Regions from separate parts of the Homo sapiens genome. Here region 1 is linked to region 2. The links are contacts of gene promoters, found by promoter capture Hi-C in blood cells and fetal thymus (Javierre and others, 2016). All regions are on one chromosome and are shown on one strand. Each heading gives the region's core, a stretch centred on a gene start or on the middle of the fragment in contact. The rest is flanking DNA. Distances are from core to core; before and after follow the strand shown. Region 1 has its middle 61 kb from the start of VIM-AS1. Region 2 holds the start of ST8SIA6 (ST8 alpha-N-acetyl-neuraminide alpha-2,8-sialyltransferase 6).

What was found. Contacts are between HindIII fragments. The CHiCAGO score rates a contact against its expected background, and 5 or more counts as called.
Region 1: a fragment that was not itself captured here is called in contact with the fragment with the promoter of ST8SIA6 in region 2 in 2 of 17 cell types (erythroblasts and megakaryocytes); the score reaches 6.2 in erythroblasts.

What each region holds. Positions count from the first base shown.
Region 1 is chr10:17,288,027-17,294,617 of GRCh38, forward strand. No RefSeq gene overlaps it. Among named protein-coding and RNA genes, the nearest start is that of VIM-AS1, 61 kb to the left of the region's middle. The HindIII fragment of the contact is 503 bases long and covers 2,014-2,516 here.
Region 2 is chr10:17,451,332-17,457,667 of GRCh38, forward strand. It overlaps ST8SIA6 (ST8 alpha-N-acetyl-neuraminide alpha-2,8-sialyltransferase 6), which reads right to left and starts at 3,264. Exons shown (of 8, transcript NM_001004470.3): 1 at 2,824-3,264; 2 at 2,228-2,326. The coding sequence starts at 2,924. The HindIII fragment of the contact is 5,030 bases long and covers 854-5,883 here.

The sequences.
Region 1 (6,591 bases), core at 1,015-3,514, 160 kb before region 2:
TCTCAGATACTTTTGGGTTCACATAACACAAAACGAATGGTCAGAAATGGACTTCCACAGTAATAATTATTTCTTGAATACATCATGGTGTGAAATTGAGGGTTTCCTCGGCTTCCGCAATTAATTGCCCTTAGCATCTTTTGAATACAACAGTCTCCTATCCTGACAGCCTTCTCTTGTTTACTCAGGAGTTCAAGTGTTCACTCGCTTCCTAAATGCTTTTCCTTCCTTGACAGCGACATGAAGCTAAGTGAGACCAATCATTTGCAGGGGCAGGTACTCACTCCGTAACGCATTTCTCATCCACTCTGTGCAACACTCCACCTGCTACTATGCATGTATGACATTAATTGTATACATTTATCATGCACCTTTTATAGGTAAATTTGTACACATTTACCATGCACCTTTTATAGGTAAATTTGTGTACATTTACCATGCACCTTTTATAGGTAAATTTGTATACATTTACCCTGCACCTTTTAAGGATTCAAGCTGTATGTACAGGTGACACAGACTACAAAAGTCATTTGATAAACAGTTCTAGTTTGAATAAACCAAATTCAAGTTAGTATAATACTAATATGCAAAAAAGAGGCTGCTGCTAGGCATACCAGGTCAAGTCTAAATAATCTCTCTTCTCAACAATCTCTTTTTGTAATATTGGGTCAGTATTGTTTGGGTGGAGAGTTACTATTTTTTCTTTTTAAATCAAAATGTAAACGTTGCTCTTTTGAACTACTGGTTAAGAGCTGCCACCCTGAAGACCTCATGGAAAAAAGATAAATGGGAAGAAGTCATAATTCTTTTTTATAACCTGGTATCACTATTACTCATGCTGATCAAATGGCTTCTGGTGGCACTACCATTGCTATTTTGCCAGTAATTCAGAATCAGTTGAAAACACAGAAGGTAGCTTACATTCATTCAAACATACATATGTGCATGGAAAGAAAGAAATATTTCCTTTGGATTACTGTATTTCAGAATGCCAAGAACACCATGGGATTAATGTCTAGCCTGAGAATGGAGAGAAGAACTAACTTTTTATCGAGTGTTATTTTATGTTAAAAGAAGCACTACTTTTTCGTTTTCCCCAGTCACTTGCACCACATTTATGAAATTATGAACCAATAAATATTTTTGAGTTCCCACTAAATCATTTATAGCACGGAAGACCCACTTCATAAAAGAGATCCAGGCTAGAATTTTTTAAATTGTCTACAATAAAGATCACATGAGCTGAAATTTATGAATACTGGAGGCTTTACAAGTTGAATCCTGAGCAAGCTGGAAGATCTCCACTATTCCCTGCCACCTAATTTTTTGAGGATGAAAAATTGTCCCCACACCCAGGAGGTGAGAATTTTATTTCCCTGTAAAACAAAAAGAAGAGGAACATTGACCTGTGAGCAACCCAAAGCACCCTCAGAAAGCTTTGAAAATCAAAAGCTGAAAATAACTATCAGCCCAAGTCACCATTTAGCAATCTGGAGAGCTTGTTTTTTTTTTTTTTTTCTTTTTTGAGACGCAGTCTTGCTCTGTTGCCCAGGCTGGAGTGCAGTGGCGCAATCTCGGCTCACTGCAGGCTCCGTCTCCCGGGTTCACGCCATTCTCATGCCTCAGCCTCCTGAGTAGCTGGGACTACAGGCGCCCGCCACCATTCCTGGCTAATTTTTTGTATTTTTAGTAGAGACGGGGTTTCACCGTGTTAGCCAGGATGGTATCGATCTCCTGACCTCGTTTCGTGATCTGCGCGACTCAGCCTCCCAAAGTGCTGAGATTATAGGCGTGAACCACCGCGCCCAGCCGGTTTAACTTTTAATGTGTCCTGTGGTTGCGATCTAATATTTTGACTCTCTGTAGTTGATAGCTTGTGAATAGCATTCTGTGTATAATGAGAAAGAATCAACCATTAGAGCAGGTGCATTTCTACAGGGCTGTCAGCATTATGCATTCCACTGTCCCATGCGTGCCAACCGTTCTCACCTCTGTTAAATTGTAGAAAATAGAAGCTTCTATTAAATTGCCATTTCAGCACCTGCAATTCTGCTAATCCTTCATTTCAGGAGAAGAGCAAATCTGATTTAGCCACAGTGCAGGTTATTAGATAGTGGTGATTATGAAACTTCGGTTCCCTGATAGCTACTCTATGCTAAAATAAATAATCCTTTAAGAAAATATGACGATGCCCCTTTTCCTTCCTCTCTCAAATATTAGTTTTGTACCTAGTGAATGAAGTCAAATGACATATTTCAGAAAATCTCTTGAAGGCAAGATTGAGCTGAAGACGTGGGTCACCTGAACACTGTGGTTTCACCTCTGGTTCTCGGGTCTGATTGAAACGAGTTTTGGAGATTACAGTTCAGTCCCTAGAGGGCCCTACAGGATAGTCAATCCACATCAAAAAGCCATTGCGTGTATGAATTCATGCTGATTTTATGTGACAGCCTTTTTCCATTTAGACAGGTTCAAGCACTACAGAGCGGAATCACTCCTCTTCCGGTAAGATTAAAAGCTTACCCATTTTTGCACAGAATCTTTCACCAGGAATTGCTCTTACTACTTTTTGTTTTCTCAGAATCATAAAATCTTTATTTTCTGATAGCAGAAAACATTTTGCCATCCATTCACCTTCACTTCTTGCAGAACAGAAGTGTCATAACTAAGACACCAGCTGGTTCAAGGGGCGTTCCATTATTTTAGTTATGAAGAAGAATTACAAGGCTCTAACTACAACTAATAGCAGGCCTTAAGATTTTAAAAATGTCAGCCGGGTGTGGTGGCTCATACCTGTAATCCCAGCACTTTGTGAGGCTGAGTCAGGCAGATCACTTGAGGCCAGGAGTTTGAGACCAGCCTGGCCAACATGGTGAAACCCTGTCTCTACTGCAAATACAAAAATTAGCTGGGGGTGGTGGTAAGTGCCTGTAATCCCAGCTACGCGGGAGGCTGAGGCAGGAGAGGCGGAGGTTGCAGTGAGCCAAGATAGCACCACTGCACTCCAGCCTAGGCAACAGAGTGAGACCCTATCTCAAAGAAAAAAAAAAAGTCACCTCCGGAGGAACCATATTATCTACTCAATGGGTCTCTCATTTCTGCCTATCAATGAGTTAAACATTTTTTCCCAGAAGATTCAACTTCTGGGAAATCCACTGGATTTAGTGGGAAAATAAATTAATAGTAAGGCTTTTAAAATCTTACTTATTTCTCCAGTGTGTATTCATGTTGGATAAATCCTTAAGGAGAAGACAGGTTAACTGAAAATTTATTAACATTTCTAAAGGAGTTGAGGATTATGATGATCATGGATTATTCATTTACTTAGGAGTTGTATGTATCTGAATTCAGATAATAAAATGAGAAGATGGTGATTCAAAGAACTGCGGTGAATGCTTTACAGGAAGCTGAGAGCAAAGCTTAACGATATGGGCTTAGGAGTCACACAGACCCGAGTTGAATTCTTGCTGGCTTCTCCTCTTTTTAGCAGCTTTGGATAAATTATTCGCCTTCTCAATGTCTCTGCTTTCTTATTTTTAAGATAGTGGTTGTAGAATATCTCCTTACGGTGTCTGCTTAGACCTCATAGTATCCTTCTTCTAAGTAAGTCCCCTCCTCCTATGTTCCTGCTCAGACTGGAGTGTTGGCAACCACGTGAGTTTTTTTCCCCCAGCTTTAATGAGACAAATAAAACTTTGTTGATTGACAAATAAAAATTGTGACCAGGTGCAGTGGCTCATGCCTATAATCCTAGCACTATGAGAGGCCAAGGTGGGCAGATTGCTTGAGCCCAGAAGTTCAAGACCAGCCTAGGCAGTATAGTGAAATGCTGTCTCTATTGAAAAAAAAAATACAAAAAATTAGCCAGGTGTGGTGGCATCAACTGTAGTCCCAACTACTTGTGAGGCTGAGGTAGGAGGATCACTTGAGCCTGGAGAAGTGGAGGCTGCAGTGAGCCATGATAGCACCACTGTACTCCAGCCTGGGCAACAGAGCAAGACCCTTTCTTCAAAAAAATTGCAAATACTTAAAGAGTACAATATGATGTTTTGCATAAGTTTATTTTGTGAATTGATTGCCACAATCAAGCCAGTTAATATATGTTAATATATTAAAATATGCTGTGTGTTTCTATGAGGGCTGAATTAACGTATCCATTGCCTCACAGTTATTATTTCTGTGTGCGTGTATGTGTGTGTATGTGTTGAGAACACTTAAGATCTCCTCTCAGCAAATTTCAAGTGTACAATATGTAATTATTAAGTGTAGTCACCATGCTGTACATCACGTCTCCAGAACTTATTTATCTCATCTATAACTGAAAGTTTGTACCATTTGATTGACATGTCCCCGTTCCCCCACCTCTCCTTCTACTCCCAGCCCCTGGCAACCATCACTCTACCCTCTGCTTCTGTGAGTTTGACTCTTTTAGTTTCCACGATAAATGAGATTCATGCAATGTTTGTCTTTCTGTGTCTGTCTTGTTTCACTTAACATAATGTCCTCCAAGTTTATTCAAGTTGTTGCAAATGGCAGGATTTCCTTCTTTTTTAAGCCTGCATAATATTCCATTGTGTGTGTATGTATATTTCACATTGTATCCATTCATCCATTCACCACTTCGGTTGTTTCCATATGTTGGCTATTGTGACTCATTTAGCAGCCATGTTTGTTACTGCATGACTATTATCTGGAGTGGATGTGATGTGTGACCCAGACCGAACCATTAGCTTTCCTCTCCAGGGAAGTTGTAGTTGACATGAAATAGCTGTCACTGAATCTCTGTTTGTGACTGGCACCAGAGAATGGTGGGGTAGCAGGTGTGAGAAAAAGCCAAGAAAGTCAGACAGCAGAGAACTAGAAGCCATATGTGGAAATCAAGGTCAATGTGGTTCCAGACATAGGGAGCATGACTGAAGAGGGGACTGTCTTGGTATCCCATGGCCTTTCGTTTCTTGGCTTAAGTCACACAAGAGGCCAAACTGCTCTTGACTGAGGCAGTATATTTTAGTCAATTTCCTATTTTTTTAAGATATTTTAAAGTGAATTTCCTATTAGTAGAAAATAAAATACTCACACCCACTACAAGGCTAATAGTACCTAAATATGAGGGCAACTGTGAAAGTTAGAGGATATGTGTAAAATGCCAGCAAGTACATTCAATAAATAGTAGCTACTTTTTTATTTATTTAGAGACAGGGTCTTGCTCTGTCACCCAGGCTGGAGTGCAGGGGCGGTGAGATCACGCTCGCTGCAGCCTCGACTTTCTGGGCTCGAGCGATCCTCCCACCTCAGCCTTCTAAGTAGCTGGGACTACAGGCACATACCACCACGTCTGGTTAATTTTTGTATTTTTGGTAGAGACGGGGTCTTGCTATGTTGCCCAGGCTGGTCTTAAGTTCCTGAGCTCAAGCAATCTGCTGGCCTCGGCCTCCCAGAGTGTTGGGTTTACAGGGGGGAGCCACCGCACCAGGCTGGTAGCTATGGTTATGTCATTTTTCCTATAAGTAAACTGTGAATATACTTGCAGTAAAGATCATTATTGGAGAGATTTTAAAGTAAGTGCAGATAACAGGGAAACCGTAAATTGGTAGAAAATCTCATTGTTATAATTTATGCTAACGTGCTTTCCTAGAAACCCAAATATAAAGTTTCTGTCATCTGTGTTTCCCAGTGGCACTGCCAAGGAGTCACAGAGCTCTAATTTAGATGTATGTGTGTGTGTGTTGTTGTGTACTTGTGTGTGAATATGTATGTGCTGTGTATGTGTTTTATAGATGAAGATAATGCATTTTCATCTCTTATTGAATTCAGATTACAATTATAATAAGAGCAGTTGAATATCATCTAATAAAGATTACATTACATTTTATTACATGCTTTTTCTATTTTTTTTTTTCTTTCTTGAGACAGAGTCTCGCTCTGTCACCCAGGCTGGAGTGCAGTGCTGCAATCTTTGCTCACTGCAACCTCTGCCTGCCAGGTTCAAGTGATTCTCCTGCCTCAGCCTCCCAAGTAGCTGGGATTATGGGCGACTGCCACCATGCCTGGCTAATTTTTGTATTTTTAGTAGAGATGGGGTTTCACCATGTTGGCCAGGCTGGTCTTGAACTCCTAGCCTCAAGTGATCCACCCGCCTCAGCCTCCCAAGCTGCTGGGATTGCAAGCATGAGCCACTGTGCCTGGCCTGATTTTTCTATTTATGCAATCACTTAATAAGCTGGGGACTACCAGTTATATTTATGAAAGCTAGAATTTTCAACTAAAACAAAGGAGTTAGCAGTAGCATTTAGTACTTTAGAATTATGATGCTTGGTCAGTGGCAATCTCAGGGAAAGCTTTTGGGGGTCTTCCCCTTTTGCATAGGATCCAAAAGCATCCCTTGCATAGTGCAAAGCATGGATTTTCCAACAGTTCATATCACCAGATGGATGGTCTCACTCGGTTCCCTTCTATCTGTGTCTCAAAGCAGCCATTTCTTATATGTGCTCATCTCATTCTTAAAACACTTTGCTAAATATAAGTGATAGCAATGAACACTTCTAATGTTCTGATTTCCAAGTTCTTTCCTCAAAGCTACAGTTCTAGTAG
Region 2 (6,336 bases), core at 2,014-4,513:
ACCACATGTTCTCATAAATAGGAGCTAAATAATGTGTACATATAGACACAGATTGTGGAATAATAAACACTGGAGACACAGAAAGGTGGGAGAGTGAGAGTGAGGGGAGAGCTGAGAAATTATCCATTGGGTACAATGAGTACACCCTATTTGGGTGACGGTTGCACTAAAATGCCGACTTCACCACTAGGCAATATATCCATGTAACAAAAATGCACTTTACCCCCTAAACCTATTTTGAAAAATTTTTAAATTAAAAATGTCAAGTGCTTAGATCAGTGTCTGGCCCATAAGAAGAGTTCATTAACTGTTGGCTCTCCTTATTCCTACCAGCATTATTACCATGAGGCTCATGTGGGAAGATCAGACCAGCTCCAGAAAAATGAAGAAATTACAATTTCTCTATACAACCAAGTAGTATGGTGGATTAAAACTTGCACCCCTGCTCCATAAATAACCAAAATCATAAATGATAAAGGGGACATAAAATAAATCAAAACATAAAGAGGCTTTTACAAACACAGAATGGTATAAATTTTAGAAAGCTTAATAAAATGGGCCATATTCAGAATTATGAGTTACCTATATTAGCCCAAGAAGTATGCCAAGTAGAAAAGAAGTATGTCAAAAGAAAGTGAAAAATTCATCAAAGATTACCTCTAAAAACGACCTGAGATCAAACCATTTAATGAGTACATTCTTTCCAACTTTCCCCAAGGGTCAACCCTCGAATGTGTAATAGCCACAGGACTCGGGAAAAGATGGAATGCTTCTCAGCTCATCAAGAAAGCTAGGCTACCTATAGTACACCAACCTGAATAGAATAAAACTATAGGACACTATTTTTCTCAAAAGCTTTTGTTACTCCAGGAGGTCCTAGTGCCTCTAATATGCTGTGAAATTCCAATGAGGGGGTGGCAGGCAGTGGTGTTCCTCAATTCAGGGTTTATCCAGCCACTTCCAGACCCTTCTTAGAGCCGTGCTAGAGCTTCCTGGAGTTACACCATCAGAAGATTAAGGTGGATCCAAGAGCCAAGAATATAGAGAAGCATACGCAGAAGAAAAGGGATTTGCAAGAGATAAAAAGAGGAAAAGAGACCGTATAGCAGATTGCAATCATAATAGCAATGCTAAGGCAGGAAGCAGTACATTCTGCTTGTGAAAATGTAAATTGATTCAGCCCTTCGAGGAAGCAACTGACAATGTGACTTAGAATCTAAAGAGTACATACTCTTTGACTTACTAATCTCAACTCCTGTCTGTCCATCTTGGGTAATTAATTTGAAATGAAGATAAAGATTTACATACAAGGATGCATTTCATAGAATTACTGATGGCAAACAAAATAAAACAGAAACAAGAAGCAACCTAAATGTCTGAAAATGGAAACTATTAAATAGATTATGGCATGTTCAGATAATAAGTTATGCAACAATCCAAAGCAATGTTTTTGTGGGGGGAGGGGAATGTAATGACAGGTATAGGTCTAGGATTTTTAGAAAAAAGGCAGAACATAAACTGCAATGTATAATCTAAGTTATATTTTTGAAATATATGTATATAGAAAAGACTACTGGAAGAAATATAGACCAAAACCACCTTGAATATGGTCTCTGAGAGGTAAGGACTCTGAATGAATAACATTTTCTTTTATACAGTTCTATTTTCTAACTTTCTGCACAAAGCTGTATTACTTTTACAATCTGAAAAAAAAACAATTACTGCCTATGAATAAAAACACATGTGAATGATAAGAAAAAAAATTTAAGCCTCCAGTCACTAAGGACAAAATCATTCCTAGCACGCAAAACAAACCTGAATCTTAACACCGGTGCCCTTTAAAGCATAGAAAAGAAAAAGCAAACCAACCAAATCCCTCCATAAAGACAGGCTGAGCTGCTTCTCTCCAAAGGTGGCGGGGTCGGGGGCGGGGGTGCTTTCAACACACCATTGTCGAGAGGAAAACTCAGCACCCGTTTTTCAAATGCAGCTGCTGGAGGATCCCCCTTGATTCAAAGACCATTCACATCCAGGCTTAGAGGGTTGAGGGAGTGTGAAGGGTGCCCCCCCCCAACCCCGCGCCCTCTTCAAACACACGCACACTCTTACACTCACTCGCGCCGTCCCAGCCTGCCTACTCCCAACGAGTCCAAGCCGGTGCAGCCGCGCCCCATGCCCGGCTCGCAGCTCCCGAGCCCCAGTCCGCCCGCGCTGGGCGCCGCTGTACCTGTTAGTGGCGCGCGGTACCGCGGTCGCCGGGCTCCGGAGCGTCCTCAGCGCTGCGGGGGTGCCGTGGGTGGCCTCCCTGCTTTCCTCCACCAGAATCCTGCACAGCCGGGGAGAAAACTTAAGTTGCTACACCCCGCCGGGAGCTGTTGGCTGAAAGGCTGGGAGTCGCGCTCCTTGCCTGGCAGGGAGATCTCGCACTCCCCGGCTCCCAGGCCAGGTCCCCAGCCCCAGAGTTGGAAGAGCCTTAGGGCGGGAAGGAAGAGACAGCAAGGACCAGAATGGGGAGCATGAGATCCTGATGCGGAACCCGACGGCAGGTCCCGCTCCACAGCTGCCTCGCCCACAGCGATGCGCGCTAGAGCCCCCGCAGCCCTGACCGGTCCCTCTGCTCCCCAGCCGCCGTCCACCGGTCGGAGGGTCGCCTCCCTGCGACCCCCTCCCCCACTCCACTCTCAGGCCGTCGCCGCCCGTGGGCTGCTCCCCGCCGCGGCCAAAAGTCTCCGCGCCCGAGGGGAAGCGATGGGCGGCTTGGGGGTCCGGGGGCGCCAGGCGGGGCGCGCGGCGCGGGGCGCGGCCGGCGGGTGGGTGGGTTACCTGGCGCGGCCGGGCGCGTCTGCCGGGCACCAGAGCAGGCGCAGCAGCAGCAGCAGCAGCAGGCTGGCGAGCAGGGCGAGCAGTGCGCCCCCCGGCCGCATCCTGAGCCACAGGCGCCGCCGCCACCGCTGCTGCCGGGGCGAAGCACAGCCCGGGCGGCCCCGACTCGCGGCTCCCGCCGCCGCCGCCACCGCCGCCGTGGCCGCAGCCCCGCGCACCCACAGCGTTCACAGGCGGCAGCGAGGGGCGCCCGCAGCCCACCCGGCAGAGTCTCCGCGGCGGGCGGAGAAGAAGCCGCGTTCGGGCTCGCCCCGGGCTCCCGGCCCCGGCCCGCGGAGCGCCGCGATCGGCTGGCAGATGACGATTCGCCGAGCTCGCCGCCTGTCCTCCCGGAGGCGCTCGGAGCTGCTGCGGGCTCCGGTCGCCGCTGCCACTGCTGCTGCCGCCGCCGCCGCGCGGGGTCACCTGAAGGTTGGGGCGCGGAAGCTCAACTCCGTGCTGATTGGGCTCCAAGTTTTCTGCGCCCTCGCCTCGTCCCGAGTGCCCGCGAATCCCCCGGACGCCCACGCAGACCACCCAGCCACACCACAACTCTGCCTGCGGAGAGAGGAGAGGAGAAAAAGGGGCCGCTTCAAAAACTTTCAAAACTGTGCAGTCGCTTGGCTGGATCCTCCCACGCATGAAGAAAGCTGGGGACTGGGGAATTGCTGGGTGGATCATGACACTGAACAGAAGCAGTAACCTGTGCTTACTTCAACCCAGATTCAGAGGGACAGCGAACTGGTATGAGGGGCTAGGAGACCTTTAGGCATGAGCACATTACTACCTGGAGACCCGTTTAGCCCCTGCCTGTATTTGCAAATAGTTTTATTGGAAAACCTCCATGCCCATGGCTTTGTATTATCAGTGACTGCATATGGCTGTATGATCTAGGGCTGCAAGGGCAGAATTGAGTAGTGATGACAGAGGTGGCATAGCCCACAGGGCCTAAAATATTTACCATTTGAAACTTTCCAGGAAAAGTTTGCATACTGCTCTTAAATAAGCAAGAGGCCATTAGCTTGAGGCTGTCTCTGTACGTTGAGTTCCCACCTAACAATGGAAACCTACATTAGGCTGTAATGAACAGGGGGCTACTGGCCAATCATGGGCAACCAACTCATTATACCAGGCCCCACAAGGCAGCCTGCATAGCTATAGCCAATCAGTTTCTCCACTGTGCTTCTGAGTTTGGCCTATCAGGCTTTGCTGCTCACACCATGGGGTGGACCTCACTGGACCTCCTCTGGTTGTGAGTGCTGCCCAATTCATGAACCCTTTGCTCGAATAAACTGTGCTAAATTTAATTTGTCTGATGTTTTTCTTTTAACACTGCTATGGGCTGAATGTTTGTGTCTCTACAAAATTCATATGTTGAAACCCAAATCCCCAATCTAATGTGGTGGTATCTGGAGGTGGGGCCTTTCATACCTGATTAGTTCATGGGGTGGAGGCTTCCTGGTGGAATTAGTTCCCTCATAAGAGCAGGCAGCGGGGAATTTGCCTCCTCTCTCTCTGCTCTGTGCAGTGTAAAGACACAGCACGAGGGCAGCTTTCTGCCAAGCAGGAAGAGGACCCTCACCAGAACCTGACCATGCTGGCACACTGATCTTGGGTTTCTTACCCTCCAGAACTGTGAAAAATAAATTTCTGTTCTTTCGGTCACCCAGCCTATGGTATCCTTCTTATGGCAGCCAGAACTAAACCACGGTCTAGATCATATTGGTTAGTATCTCATTTACGAGTATCTCATCTGTTGCAGGAGAGTGATCCAATGACACTATGAAACAGACTGGCTCTCTATTTTTTTAAAAGTGGGTCTCAACTCTCTATGCCCTAAACTATCCTGACTGCCCAAGCCCCCACTTAGCCACTTCCCTAGGTTTTAATTCCATTGTGGTTATATGCAGGCTTATAAAATTATTCACTCTTACTTTTGTATAGTTTCGAGATTTTTCCAAATGCAACCCTTGGATTCCACCATCTTGGGAGTACCTTGATAAGATCTTTTGAAATGACTTCAATTTTGAAAAGGCTTTCATGAGTTAACTTTCCCAAGCAACAAAAATATGATATTTCAACTGACATCTCCTAGAAGCATATGGTCTTCACCTGAAAGAGGCCCAAGTGAGAGCCATTTGGGAGCAACCAGGCCAGACAGCCAAATAAAGCTGTCACCAAAGATTCCATCACAAGAAAACATATATCAAGGCAAGAGATACCAGTGTCCCTAGTCTCTTTCTGCTAATTCCGGATTTACTCTAAAAACATCTTGTTGAATACAAAACAGAAGTTTGCACATAATAATTGATCAATAAATGTTTAGTCAATGAATAAAAGCACATAAGAACTAGTGTTATTTTTAAAGAGAAAATGGAGCAAAAAAACTAAAAATAAATGTGACTAGGAATGTGATTTCCTTCTATAGCTCATCACTGCTGTTAATATATGTACTAATCAGGAATAAAAACAGGCTTCTACTTTTATATAAAACTAATATTTGTAGGGATTCAGTTGCTTCATCTGAGTATGACATAAAGTAATGCTATACTCAGGTAGTGATAGAATAATACAGAAATCTAGTTCTACATATTTCAAAGTTTAAGCCGTTTGTTAAATAAGTAGAATATGGCACAATCATCTAGAAAATGAAGAGTTGCCTGGATTTGAAAGATATTCCAATTTTTATCTCAGTGCAGAAAATTGTGCAGAAAACTAATGCTGAACATGGTTTGCAGAAAAAGAAAAAGGCATTATTGTATCAGCCAGGAAGCTGCAATTTCACCTAATTTACTAAAGTTTAATATTTCAGCACAGCTGGGCTCAAGGCAACAGCAGAAGAGTCAGCCTTGCACTGGGTTCCCTAAACACCCTTGCTGCAAATGAAGTTACTTTTTATCAAGCCAATGGCTATCAGCAGGGGACTCACAAAAGCCCATTTTAATTGGAAAAACAAGTGTAAATTTGCAATGGGAATTCTGAGCCCAGTGTTAAAATTTGACAGTAGGGAACTTTACCACAAGCTTTCTAATTTAAGACCTGGGTGGGTAAGATATGAATTATCTTGCTCATCCTTGAGAGAGAAAGAAACCTGACAAGAAAATGATACCTTAACATTATTAGCCATAGAACCACTACTGGAAAAGTGTGCATTTGGTAGCTTAACATTTCCAGGCTTGACTTGCAACCCTAAAGATCTATGCCATGTAGTAATTTGAAATGCTGCTGAGGCCAGGAATTGAAACGTAAACTCAGGTTGACATCCGGATGCTGCTCCCAAGCTTGTGTAAGTGGCGAGCCTACCTCACTCACCCAGTCCACTCCACATGGGCCTCTCATTTTGTCTTTGTTATTCTTTATTCATCATCATGAATGTCCTTACCTTCATAAAATAACTTTTAAAAAATGATTGGGAAGTTTCGATATATAAAAAGTCTCCAGGCCTATGGAAATCTTGAAAGTTGAAGTTTCTGA